Linked DNA regions of Homo sapiens: regions 1, 3 and 4 are each linked to region 2. Evidence: promoter capture Hi-C in human tissues and cell types (Jung and others, 2019). All regions are on one chromosome and are shown on one strand. The core of a region is centred on a gene start or on the middle of the fragment in contact, and the rest is flanking DNA. Distances in the headings are between cores, read along the strand shown.

Region 1 (2,700 bases), core at 87-2,586, 34 kb after region 2:
TTATTCAGGGCTTACCATGCACAGAATACTGCTTAGGCACTTCAAAAGGATGGAAAAGAACGAGATGGTGGGGATCTTTGTCCTTGGAAAACATATAATCTAACTGCACAGATTAAAACACCTAAGTATTATTTTAAGGCAACTACAAAATGCACTACAAATTATGGAATAATATAGAATAGCTTGACTACTAAGATGATGCTTAATTTAGAAGTGGATGAAGGGCACTGGGTAGTGGATATAGATAGGTGATAGCTGAGGACTGAACCCTGGGGGCAGTCAATTGAAAGGTTGGAAAGGAGAGAAGAAGGAAGGAAAACCAAAGGAGTGCAGTGGCTTGACAGCCAGTGGGGAAAGGATGTCAAATGCTGCTGGATAATGGGTAAGAAGAGGAGAGAGAATTGATTGTTTTGTATGGAGAGATGGAACTTGCTGGTGATCTTGATAAAAACAAGATGGAAATCAGAGTGAACACCTGAATAGAATGGATTGTACGGAACAGGAGATGAGGAAGTAGACACAGCATTGAGAACACAGGTATTGTAGAGCAGTGGGATGATGAACCTAAGGAGGATGTGGGGGAAAGAGAGTTTTTTTTTCTTTTTTTCCTTATGATGTAGACTGTAACTGTAACTGCATGTTTATGTTAAGATAAGAATGACTCCATAGAAAGGAAAAAATGACGTAGGAGAGGGATAGGATAGTTGCCAAAGCAAAGACCTGAAAGAGGGAATAGAGAGGGAAATTCTTTTATTTATTTATTTTGATTTTTTTTTTTTTGAGACAGAATCTCGCTCTGTCACCAAGCTGGGGTGCAGTGGCATGATCTCAGCTCACTGCAACCTCTGCCTTCCAGGTTCAAGCGATTCTCCTGCCTCAGCCTCCCGAGTAGCTGGGACTACAGGTGCGCACCACCATGCCCACCTAATTTTTGTATTTGTAGTAGAGACGGGGTTTCACCACGTTGGCCAGGCTGGTCTTGAACTCTTGGCCTCAAGTGATCTGCCCACCTCAGCCTCCCAAAGTGCTGGGATTACAGGCATGAGTACTGTGCCTGGCCAAGAGAGGGAAATTCTTAACGTTAAATGCTTATATTAGGTAAGGAAAAATATTCAAAATCAATGACCTAAGCCTCTACTTAAGAAACTCGATAAAGAAGAGCAAACTAAAGCTAATATAAGGAGAAGAAATGAAATCATAAAAGAACAGGAACCAAATAAATAGCAGTAAAACAATGGGGAAAAATGAAACAAAAATCTGGTTCTTTGAAAAAAACCAATAAAGCTGGTAAAGCTCTGGCCAGATGGAAAAAAGAGAAGGCACAAGTATCAGTAATGACAGGAGACGTCACTATAGGCCCTACATTATTAAATTAATAAAGGATAGTATGGATAACTTTAATGCCAATAAATTTTAAAACGTAAATGGACAAATTCCTTTTTTAAAAAAACCCACAAAATTCACTCGAGAGGCCGAGGTGGGTGGATCACCTGAGGTCAGGAGTTTGAAACCAGCCTGGCCAACATAGTGAAACCCCATCTCTACTAAAAATACAAAAAATAAACCAGGCGTGGTGATGGGCACCTGTAATCCCAGCTACTTGGGAGGTTGAGGCAGAAGAATCACTTGAACCCAGAAGGCGGAGGTTGCGGTGAGCTGAGATAACACCATTGCACTGCAGCCTGGGCAACAAGAGTGAAACTCCGTCTCAAAAAAAAAAAAAAAAAAAGAAAAGAAAATCTGCATATCCTTCTATGTCTGCAGACTTTGTTTTTTCTTGCCTCTTAATATGCCTTGTAATTATTTGTTGAAAGCTAGACATCGCCTCTTGGGTAATAGGAACTGAATTTTAAAAGCCTTGAGTGTAAATTTTATGTTAATCTAGGTAGGAGTTGGATTATATTTAATGTTTGCTGTGGCTGTTAGTGCCAGAGGCTTCGAATTCCTCTGGTGGTCTTGTTTTTGTCTCCCCTTTTGACTGTGGAGTTCCCTCAGTGCCCCTTTTCAGAGAAAGCCTGTGTCTTGCAACTCGTTCAGCTGTAATCCACTGTAAATTAACACTAGAGCCCTGTTGGTATGGCAGTGCGATGTGGAGGAGGGGACATGTATAATAATAAAATTATAATAATAAAATCTAAATCTCAGTATTTTCATGGGCCTGAATCCCTGGGCTGAGAGTTTCTTAACTTTTTCCCCCTTAGATAAGACAGGAAGCTAGAAGGTGGCTGGAGAAGAAAGGTAACTTTCCCCAGCTGGGTTACGGCTTTGGTAAAGTCTTTTTCCTTGGAGAGAGGCTTTTGTTGTGGAAAACACTCTGGATGTATTTTACAATGAAGACAGTATTTCTCACCCTTACACTAGTCCATACTCAGACTCCAGCAATTTGTCAACATTAGCATTTAAGTGTTACTACCAGTTTATGGCTCCAGCAGCTTGCACTCCAGGTAAGCAAATCTCAGCTGTGACTCTGGATTCACCTCTCTCTCCAGATTTTGGAGTGGTGGTTTACCCTGAGACCTCAGTTCTCTGATGGGTTCAAAAGAATTGTTGATTTTTCCATTTGCTTAGCTTTTTCTTGTAAGGATGGGAGTGATGGCTTCCAAGCTCTTTATATGTTAGAGCTAACTGGACATCCTCTGTATCTATTAAATACGTTGAATTTGTAGTTTTTATAAAGAAAACAATTATTAAAATGTACAT
Region 2 (2,700 bases), core at 103-2,602:
ATGGGCAAAGGTAATGTTTTTCTGTAAGAATTAAATACCTGCAGTTGTATTATTTGAAGGTGCATTTTCAGGGGCGAGCTGCAAAACATCTGTCAGGTCCCAACATTTGTCTACTGGTGTTTTTTTAAATGTGGATTGCCAAAATCTTTATTCATGATGGACATTATGTAGGAGTGGTTAATACTTACATAGCACTTACCTGTGTCAGGCACACTGATCAAAATAACCGACGAAGTATTATTCAACATAAAGAAAAATCTAACTTGGATGTGAATGATCAGAGAACTTAAGTTTTAATTTTTAAACCTTTCAGAAATTGTTAATATAGATGTTTATAACTTCCACCTTTTAAATTATTTCACTTATTGAACAGATATTAGTGAACTTCTAGGTGCTGAGGAAACAACAAAGAGCAAAGCAAAGTCCCTGTCCCCCAGGAGTTCGCGTTTTAACGGGGAAGAAAAATAAGCAAGTGAAATGGACGACTGTGAGAAGACGGAGCAGGGAGATGTTACTATTGCTTGTAGGGTGGTCACAGAATGCCTGCAAAAACAACCCTTTTGAAGAATTGGGAAAAAAATAAAAACCATTTGGCTGAAACAGCCCTGAGAAGGGCAGCTTCTTCCACCACTCTTTCATCATTTTACCATCTGTGGGTTATCCCCGGGGTCACTGCTATCCCAGCCTAGGTTTTATACAGGATGGAGTACGAAGTTCCCGCAACTATCCAAACGGTAAAATGTGCTTAAAAAAAAAAAAAAACCTATTTAAAAAGGAATCCTGCTTGTTCCTGCGCTACATTTTTGTTTAGTCTCTTTGGTTGACTTGGAATCTCTGCCTGTTCTCGGTGCATGCGGCTCGAAGGTGGGCTAGGGAGCTTCCCTTCTCTTAACCACCTCGCGGCCGGCACTGGAACCCGATCGGAGTGTATCTGTGGGGCTGCGGCGATGGCTGGGGCCCTAACGTCGCCGAGGACGCCCGCCTCGGGAGCAGGAGCTGCGGCGTGGCCCTGGCGCTTCCGGACACCCGGTAGGGCGGAGGGCCCAACGGTGGGGTCCGCGCTCACCGCCTTGAGCCCGCCCCTGCGCCCGGCGCCCTCAGCCCACGCCCCGCCCAGTCCCCCAGGCCCTAGCGTTTACCCCCACGCCCCGCCTCGCCCCGCGACCCACGTACCCCGCCTCCGAGCCCCGCCCCCGCCCCCACGTGCCCCGCCCCCGAGCCCCGCCCCCGTCCCCGTGCCTGCCCATGAGCCGCGCCCCGCCCCCCGCGTCCCGCTTAGCCCCCCACCCCGAGCCCCACCCACCGAACCCCGCCCGCGCCGGGAGCATCTCGCGTCCCCAACGGGCCCCCGGGTCGGTTTCCGCGGTGGCCATGACTGCGGCCGTGTTCTTCGGCTGCGCCTTCATTGCCTTCGGGCCTGCGCTCGCCCTTTATGTCTTCACCATCGCCACCGAGCCGTTGCGTATCATCTTCCTCATCGCCGGGTGAGGCGGTCGCGTCGGGAAACCCGGACGCCGGGGCTCCCCTCCCCCGCTGGGGTTACCCGCGACCCTCGGCGCCCCCACCGCGCGGCTCGACCTTGTTGCGTTTCAGACGGGAGGAGGGTTGAGAGGGGGAGAGCGGAGATCCGGCTCCCCAAAGGCGCCTCGCCCTCTTAGGAAGAAGCGCACACTGGGGGTCAGGGCCTTTTGCCTGGGGCTCATGGGTGGGGTTTAGTGATCCGTGAAGCTACTAAAGTTGTATAAAAAAATTATGGATAAGTTCATATATGCATCCTTCATTTTCTGGAGGGGGAGTCCCTAATTTCCCTCAGATTCTCAAAGGCATGTGTAATCCCCAAAGGGTTAAAAACCATTGGCGTTTAGGATAGTAGTGCGCGACTTCCGCCTATTAGAATCACCTGTGGCCAGGTGCTTTAAAACATGCCGATGCCCACCCCCACCCCGATCCATTGAATCAGAATGTCTAGGGGATGGGATTCGGGCTTCAGAAAAAAAAAAAAAAATTTAAGCTCCTTTTGGATGGTTCCGTTGTGCAGCCGAAGGGTGGAAACCTGTAAAAACACCGAAGCACCTGACTGTGCGTCTCCTTCTGGGAGCTTGGTAAATACCGGACTCTGGTGTCCCATCGCAGTCATCACCTGCCTCTTACTTGCACATACCACATCCCCCCTCCTCTGATGAGTCTCTCTTGGCACCAGACTAGGCCAATGATTCCCGCTTTTCTGCGTTTCTTCACCTCCCACAAACGTATTGAAAGTGCTTCGCTGCATGTCATTTTAAAAATAATAGAGATTTGGGAAGGGTCTGTAAAGCTTGCTATAATCATTAGAATCCCCAGGGGTGCTGTAAGACCTGGAGGGCTTGGATACTGATCCAGATCAGAACACAGGTTTTCAAGTTGAATTTTATACCAGTCACTTTATTAATAGAGATGTAGATATTTTTCTGGAAAAGATACTCATCTTTGCAGATATCTGATCAGTAAATCCATAATTTCTTGTAAGTTTTAAGAATATGAAAATTGCAGTAATCAGGGTTGTGTATTTTCTTGTTTTGGCTCATCAATGGGCAGAGCATTGATTAGAAAGAGTAGCAAATAACCAAGTTTCTAGCTAGATAGTCCTTGGCAGATAGAGTCTGCAGATGTACTTGCAAGTAGCAGGGTCATTGAAAAAAGTAATTGTTGGGAAACCTCAGC
Region 3 (2,725 bases), core at 95-2,594, 35 kb before region 2:
TCAACCTTAATAAGAACAGGCGTTACTACTTTAATAAGCCAGAATAAGGAAAATATTAATCTGAACAAATATTCTGGTATACATCGTCGTTTATTTAAAACGTGAATGAAGGTTGGGCAGGCTAGCTCACACCTGTAATCCCAGCACTTTGAGAGGCTAAGGCAGGTGGATCACATGAGGCCAGGAATTTGAGACCAGCCTGGTCAACATGGTGAAACCCCATCTCTACTGAAAATACCAAAGTTAACTGGGTGTAGTGGAGCACACTGTAATCCCAGCTAGTCGCGAGGCTGAGGCAGGAGGCAGGAGAATCGCTTGAACCCAAGAGGCGAAGGTTGCGGTGAGCCAAGATCGCGCCACTGCACTCCAGCCTGCACAACAGAAGGAGACCCATCTCAAAAAAAATAAGTGAATGAATTATTAAGTGGTAAAATGTTGGACATTGGCCTTTTAATTAATTTATTCAGGTATACAGTAGGCATTTTGAAAGTCATTGTTTTTTTTATTTTGGTAAAAACATAATATGTAAGTTACAGTCTTAACCATTTTTCAGTGTACAGTTCAGTAGTTTTACAAGCCTGTTCACACTGTGGTGCAACTGATCCGTAGAACTATTTCATCTTGCAAATCTGACACTCCATACCTATTAAACAACTATTCCTTTCCCCCTCCTTCCAGATCCTGGTAACTACCATTGTACTACTTTCTGTTTCTATGGATTTGGAAAGTCATGAATTTTTTTAAAATGTTAATCTGAAGAAACATGTATTGAGTACATACCAGGTTTTGGGCATTGTTCTTGATGCCAGGCCCAAAGAGAGGTAAAGGATAGAGGAGGATTCCTAGAGGGTCTTTGTTACACTGGATTTGGTGGCATATAAAACGTAAATCACAATAAAAATCAATGTCTATTAAGTCTTAAATGAGTGATGGAAACAGTATATTTTGTCAGATGCTAGCAGTAATATTTATGCTGAGTTGCTGAGTTTTGTGTCACCTTTACAGACCCTGAAATGCTGAGGGAGGTGCCTTAGAGGAGAAAATATGAGCCAGATAACTTGGGAATAGTGGTTATCAGATTGCATTAGGTTGCTGCAAAAGTAATTGCGGTTTTTGCCATTCTTAATGGCAATTACTTTTGCAGCAACCTAATATTTATTAATAATTTATGGTTGTTAGTGAGGGGAAATAATGGTTGAGAAGGTGTTCTGCTAAATTAGCTTGGGTGTGATTGTTGCCTATTTCAAGACACAAGAGTATCTAAAAAGGCTCCGTGGGGGAAAAGTACCACACAGAGAAAAAAGGAGGAAATTCGGTTGGTTTATGTCTATGCATTGTATAAAGCTGGAGCTAGGAAGCAGCCTTTTGGGTGCTTTCAATGTTTATATGAAAAAATACTGTAGTAACATAGCAGTTGAATGCTCCCCACCTAAATAAAACTGGAGTTGGCTGGGTGGCTCACGCCTATAATCCTAACACTTTGGGAGGCCGAGGCGGGTGGATCACGAGGTCGGTCAGGAGATTGAGACCACCCTGGCCAACATGGTGAAACCCCGTCTCCACTAAAAATACAAAAAATTATCTGGGCGTGATGGTGCATACCTGTAGTCCCAGCTACTCGGGAGGCTGAGGCGGGAGAATCACTTGAACCTGGGAGGTGGAGGTTGCAGTGAGCTGAGATTGCTCCACTGCACTCCAGCCTGGTGACAGAGTGAGACTCTGTCTCAAAAAACAAAACAAAACAAAACTGGAGTTAATGTTTAAGTCAATTTAGAGGATATGTAATTTACGTGTTTTCCTGAAATTTCTTGGAAACCACTTTAAGGGGTTCTATATAGCAGTGGTCCCCAACCTTTTTGTCACCAGGGACTGGTTTCATGGAAGACAGTTTTTCCTCCAGGGACTGGAGGTGGTGGTGGTGTGGGGGTGGGGGTGGTTTAGGAATGATTCAAGCACATTACATTTATTATGCACTTATATTCTATTTTTATTACATTGTAATATATAATGAAATTATTATACAACTCACCAATGTAGAATCAGCGGGAGCTGTGAGCATGTTTTCCTGCAACAAGATGGTCCTATCTGGGGATGATAGAAGACAGTGACAGATCATCAGGCATTAGATTCTCATAGGAGTGCACAACCTAGATCCCCCACATGGGCAGTTCACAATAGGGTTTGAGCACCTATGAGAATCTAATGCCACTGCTGATCTGACAGGAGGCTGAACTTAGGCAGCAATGCAAGTAATGGGGAGCAGCTGTAAATATAGATGAAGCTTCTCTCACTTGCCTGCCACTGAATTCCTGCTGTGCAGCCCAGTACTGGTCTGTGGCCCAGGGATTGAGAAACCCTGCTGGACAGAATGCAAAAGAATAGAAAAATCTAAACAAAGCTGAGTAGCCAGATGATGACGATTTAGCAAATTGCAACTAAGTTGTATTCACTAACTGGTCTCCTCAGAAAGCTTATTCCTGATATATGATAGAGCTTGCTGATATTTGTCAAGGGCTTTGTGGTTCTTTGTCTTTGAAATTGATAAATAAGTTTTGAGCTACCATAGTGGGGGGAAATACGTGAGGGAAGGGTTGAACTTTTGAAGTGCCCGAGGCCTTCAAAAGGCATAGCCCTTTGAAAGCCAAAACTTTTGGCTTCAGGTTAGAATCATCTGGGAAACTTTAAAAATTACCAGTGCCCAGGTCCCATCCTTGACTAATTAAGT
Region 4 (2,700 bases), core at 143-2,642, 50 kb after region 2:
ACTGTTCTCTTTCACACCTAACAGTAGTAGACCTATATTTTGAAAGAGGTCTCGTTGTCACCCCCCTCTTCAAACCTCTGATTCCATAACAGGGTTCCCAGAAACCTTTTTATTTTTCATACCCCCCCCAAATAAATTAGGTTTTAGGAAAAGCCAAATGTCACAATAAAAACATGGACAAAGGGCATGAAGAGTTAATGTGAGTGAGAGATCAGGTTTTCCTTCATCTTTCTTTTTGAATTCATAGACCAAAAAGCATATGTAAAGATCTTGATAAGAAGACAGCCTGGCTGCTTAACTTCAGGCACAAGCCCCAAGTCAAGAGACTCGTCCAAGGCCATGCAATAGCAGCAAGCAAGGCACACACGCTTCCAAATCTGAGCACAGTGACCCCTGAACCCTTTGAACGACCAGGGTCACATGTGCGTCTCATGCAAAGGAGGCCAGGGCACGGGTGCTTTGGGGACGGCCCTCCTAGGGTAAGTGGTGGTCCAGGTGACTGCGGCTCTTCATGCCACAAAGCTGCCTTCCCAGGCAGACTAATCATCATGGACACATAGCTGTCCATTCCCATTTTGGACCCAAACCAGCTCACCTCTTCCTTCTGAAAAGCCAAATGGACACCACCACCACAATACAGATGCCAAGAATGCCAGCCAGGGCCAGTGAGAGGATGATGCCTGGTGAAGAGGTAGAGGGCACACATTACATTCCTTCCTTCCCCTCCATCTTAGCCCATGGCCCCCGGGTGTGAAATCATGGCCCAGCTGCATAATCATCCACAGAAAGGAATAATTTCCCCATCCCTGTTCTCAGATTCTGGTCTTTGGCTTAGTGGGACTGGCTGGAGTATTTTGAGGTGGCCGTTTGCAAATTCTAGTGGTTTTCCAGCAGATGCTCTCAAACTTACACAAGGGTCATCTGAAGAGCTTGTTTAAAATGTAGGGTTTTTTTTTTTTTTTTAGCCCAACCCCCAGAGATTCAAAGTCAATCTGTTTGGTGCAGGGCCCGGGAATCTGCATTTTGCCAAATACTTACAGCTGATACTGATGCACGTGGTCCAAGAACCACACTTTGATAAGCCCTGGGCTACACAAATAAGAACTTACTCTGTCTTTGCCTGCTGGATTTAAGGCCCATTGGCTGTCTCCATCAGTTTTGCCCCCAAGTTCCATTGCACAGTCCTAAGCAGTCCCAGATGACCAGTAGTCCATTGCCAAGGTCATGCGGCCTGTCAGCTGACCTCCACAATGGGCTCTGGTATGTTTTCAGCAACAGCCTCCCACCATGACCAAAAGAAAGTCTTAGATAGGTTCTTTGAATACACACATGCTGTAGAGTGATTGGATCTTTCATTAGAGGAACATTTGATTGGCAGTTCATCTTTGAATCACAGAGCGACTTGAGGGTAAGACCCATAGCAAGGAGAGGGCCAGGAGCCAGAGCAATAGTACAGAGAAGCAGAGAGGACGGGCTTGGATCACACCAAGAATCACAGTGATCACCCAGCTGCAGCATGCACGGCTGGCTGCCCAGCCACATACCCAGACTCAGTCCTGCCGCAGTACAGACTTGCACTTAAAAGGGGAGAGGAAAAGACGAGGTTACTCTAGAGTCAAACCACACTGGATTTGAGCAGCGTGTTGAGAGACGCTCTACCATTTGTTTGGTCTTAGGCTGACAGACCTCTAGGGATGTCCACCCTTGGCTCAGGGATTGCCTGATGAAGTACAGGAAATTGCCCATCTAGGGAATTCATACTGCAATCCCTCCTTCCGATGCTCCTTTTTTTTTTTTTTTTGAGATGGAATCTCGCTCTGCCGCCCAGGCTGGAATGCAGTGGTGCGATCTTGGCTCACTTCAACCTCCGCCTCCTGGGTTCAAGCAATTCTCTGCCTCAGTCTCCCAAGTAGCTGGGATTACAAGCACCTGCCACCACACCCAGCTAATTTTTGGATTTTTAGTAGAGACAGGGTTTCACCATCTTGGCCAGGCTGGTCTTGAACTCCTGACCTCATTATCCACCTGCCTTGGCCTTCCAAAGTGTTGGGATTATAGGCGTGAGCCCCTGCGCCCGGCCCCGATGCTCCTTTATCACAACAGTTTCCTGGCTAGGGCAAGACTTCACTTGAGTTTTTGTTTGTTTGTTTGTTTGTGTTTTTTTTGAGACAGAGTCTCGCTCTGTCACACATGCTGGAGTGCAGTGGCACAATCTTGGCTCACTGCAACCTCCACCTCCTGGGTTCAAGCAATTCTCATGCCTCAGCCTCCCGAGCAGCTGGGACTGCAGGCGTGCACCACAACGCTTGGCTAATTTTTGTATTTTTAGTAGAGATGGGGTTTTGCCATGTTGACCAGGCTGGTCTCGAACTCCTGATCTCAAGTGATCCACCTGCCTCGGCCTCCCAAACTATGGGGATTACAGGTGTGAGCCACGGCGCCCAGCCAAGATTTCAGTTTTTAATACAACATGGCCAAAGAGGAAAGATGAAGAAAGGTAGGGATCAAAGCCTGCTTGGGCAGGCTCCTGTCCATGTCCCTGGTACCTGCCTCACTTCCTAAGCAAGGAATCCATCACCAGACTTCTCCCCCAGCCCATCAGCTTGTCATCATGGTTTGGTTCTATTTTTGCTTTGTCCCTCCTGGACAAACGCCTTCACCACATCAGCCCCACTTCTCTGCTCCATGGAACCAGGGTAT

The links. Contacts are between HindIII fragments. The study calls those that stand out against the background at their distance.
Region 1: a contact is called between a fragment that was not itself captured here and the fragment with the promoter of APH1B in region 2, in 4 of the 25 tissues and cell types used here (heart right ventricle, ovary, small bowel and 1 more).
Region 3: a contact is called between a fragment that was not itself captured here and the fragment with the promoter of APH1B in region 2, in 5 of the 25 tissues and cell types used here (IMR-90 fibroblasts, bladder, lymphoblastoid cells and 2 more).
Region 4: a fragment that was not itself captured here is called in contact with the fragment with the promoter of APH1B in region 2 in 2 of the 25 tissues and cell types used here (H1 embryonic stem cells and mesenchymal stem cells).

Annotation. Positions count from the first base shown.
Region 1 is chr15:63,310,184-63,312,883 of GRCh38, forward strand. No RefSeq gene overlaps it. Among named protein-coding and RNA genes, the nearest start is that of APH1B, 34 kb to the left of the region's middle. The HindIII fragment of the contact is 5,043 bases long and covers 1-2,700 here.
Region 2 is chr15:63,276,253-63,278,952 of GRCh38, forward strand. It overlaps APH1B (aph-1B gamma-secretase subunit), which reads left to right and starts at 1,353. Exons shown (of 6, transcript NM_031301.4): 1 at 1,353-1,484. The coding sequence starts at 1,372. LOC124903504 (a long non-coding RNA gene) reads left to right here. Exons shown (of 2, transcript XR_007064674.1): 2 at 1-600. RefSeq lists silencers at 880-1,299, 1,380-1,659. The HindIII fragment of the contact is 12,664 bases long and covers 1-2,700 here.
Region 3 is chr15:63,240,951-63,243,675 of GRCh38, forward strand. All of the region lies in intron 1 of RAB8B (RAB8B, member RAS oncogene family), which reads left to right. Among named protein-coding and RNA genes, the nearest start is that of APH1B, 35 kb to the right of the region's middle. The HindIII fragment of the contact is 3,635 bases long and covers 1-2,725 here.
Region 4 is chr15:63,326,554-63,329,253 of GRCh38, forward strand. CA12 (carbonic anhydrase 12) reads right to left here. Exons shown (of 11, transcript NM_001218.5): 9 at 1,545-1,577; 10 at 596-680. The region is part of intron 1 of LOC124903506 (a long non-coding RNA gene); the gene reads left to right. Among named protein-coding and RNA genes, the nearest start is that of APH1B, 50 kb to the left of the region's middle. The HindIII fragment of the contact is 3,476 bases long and covers 1-2,700 here.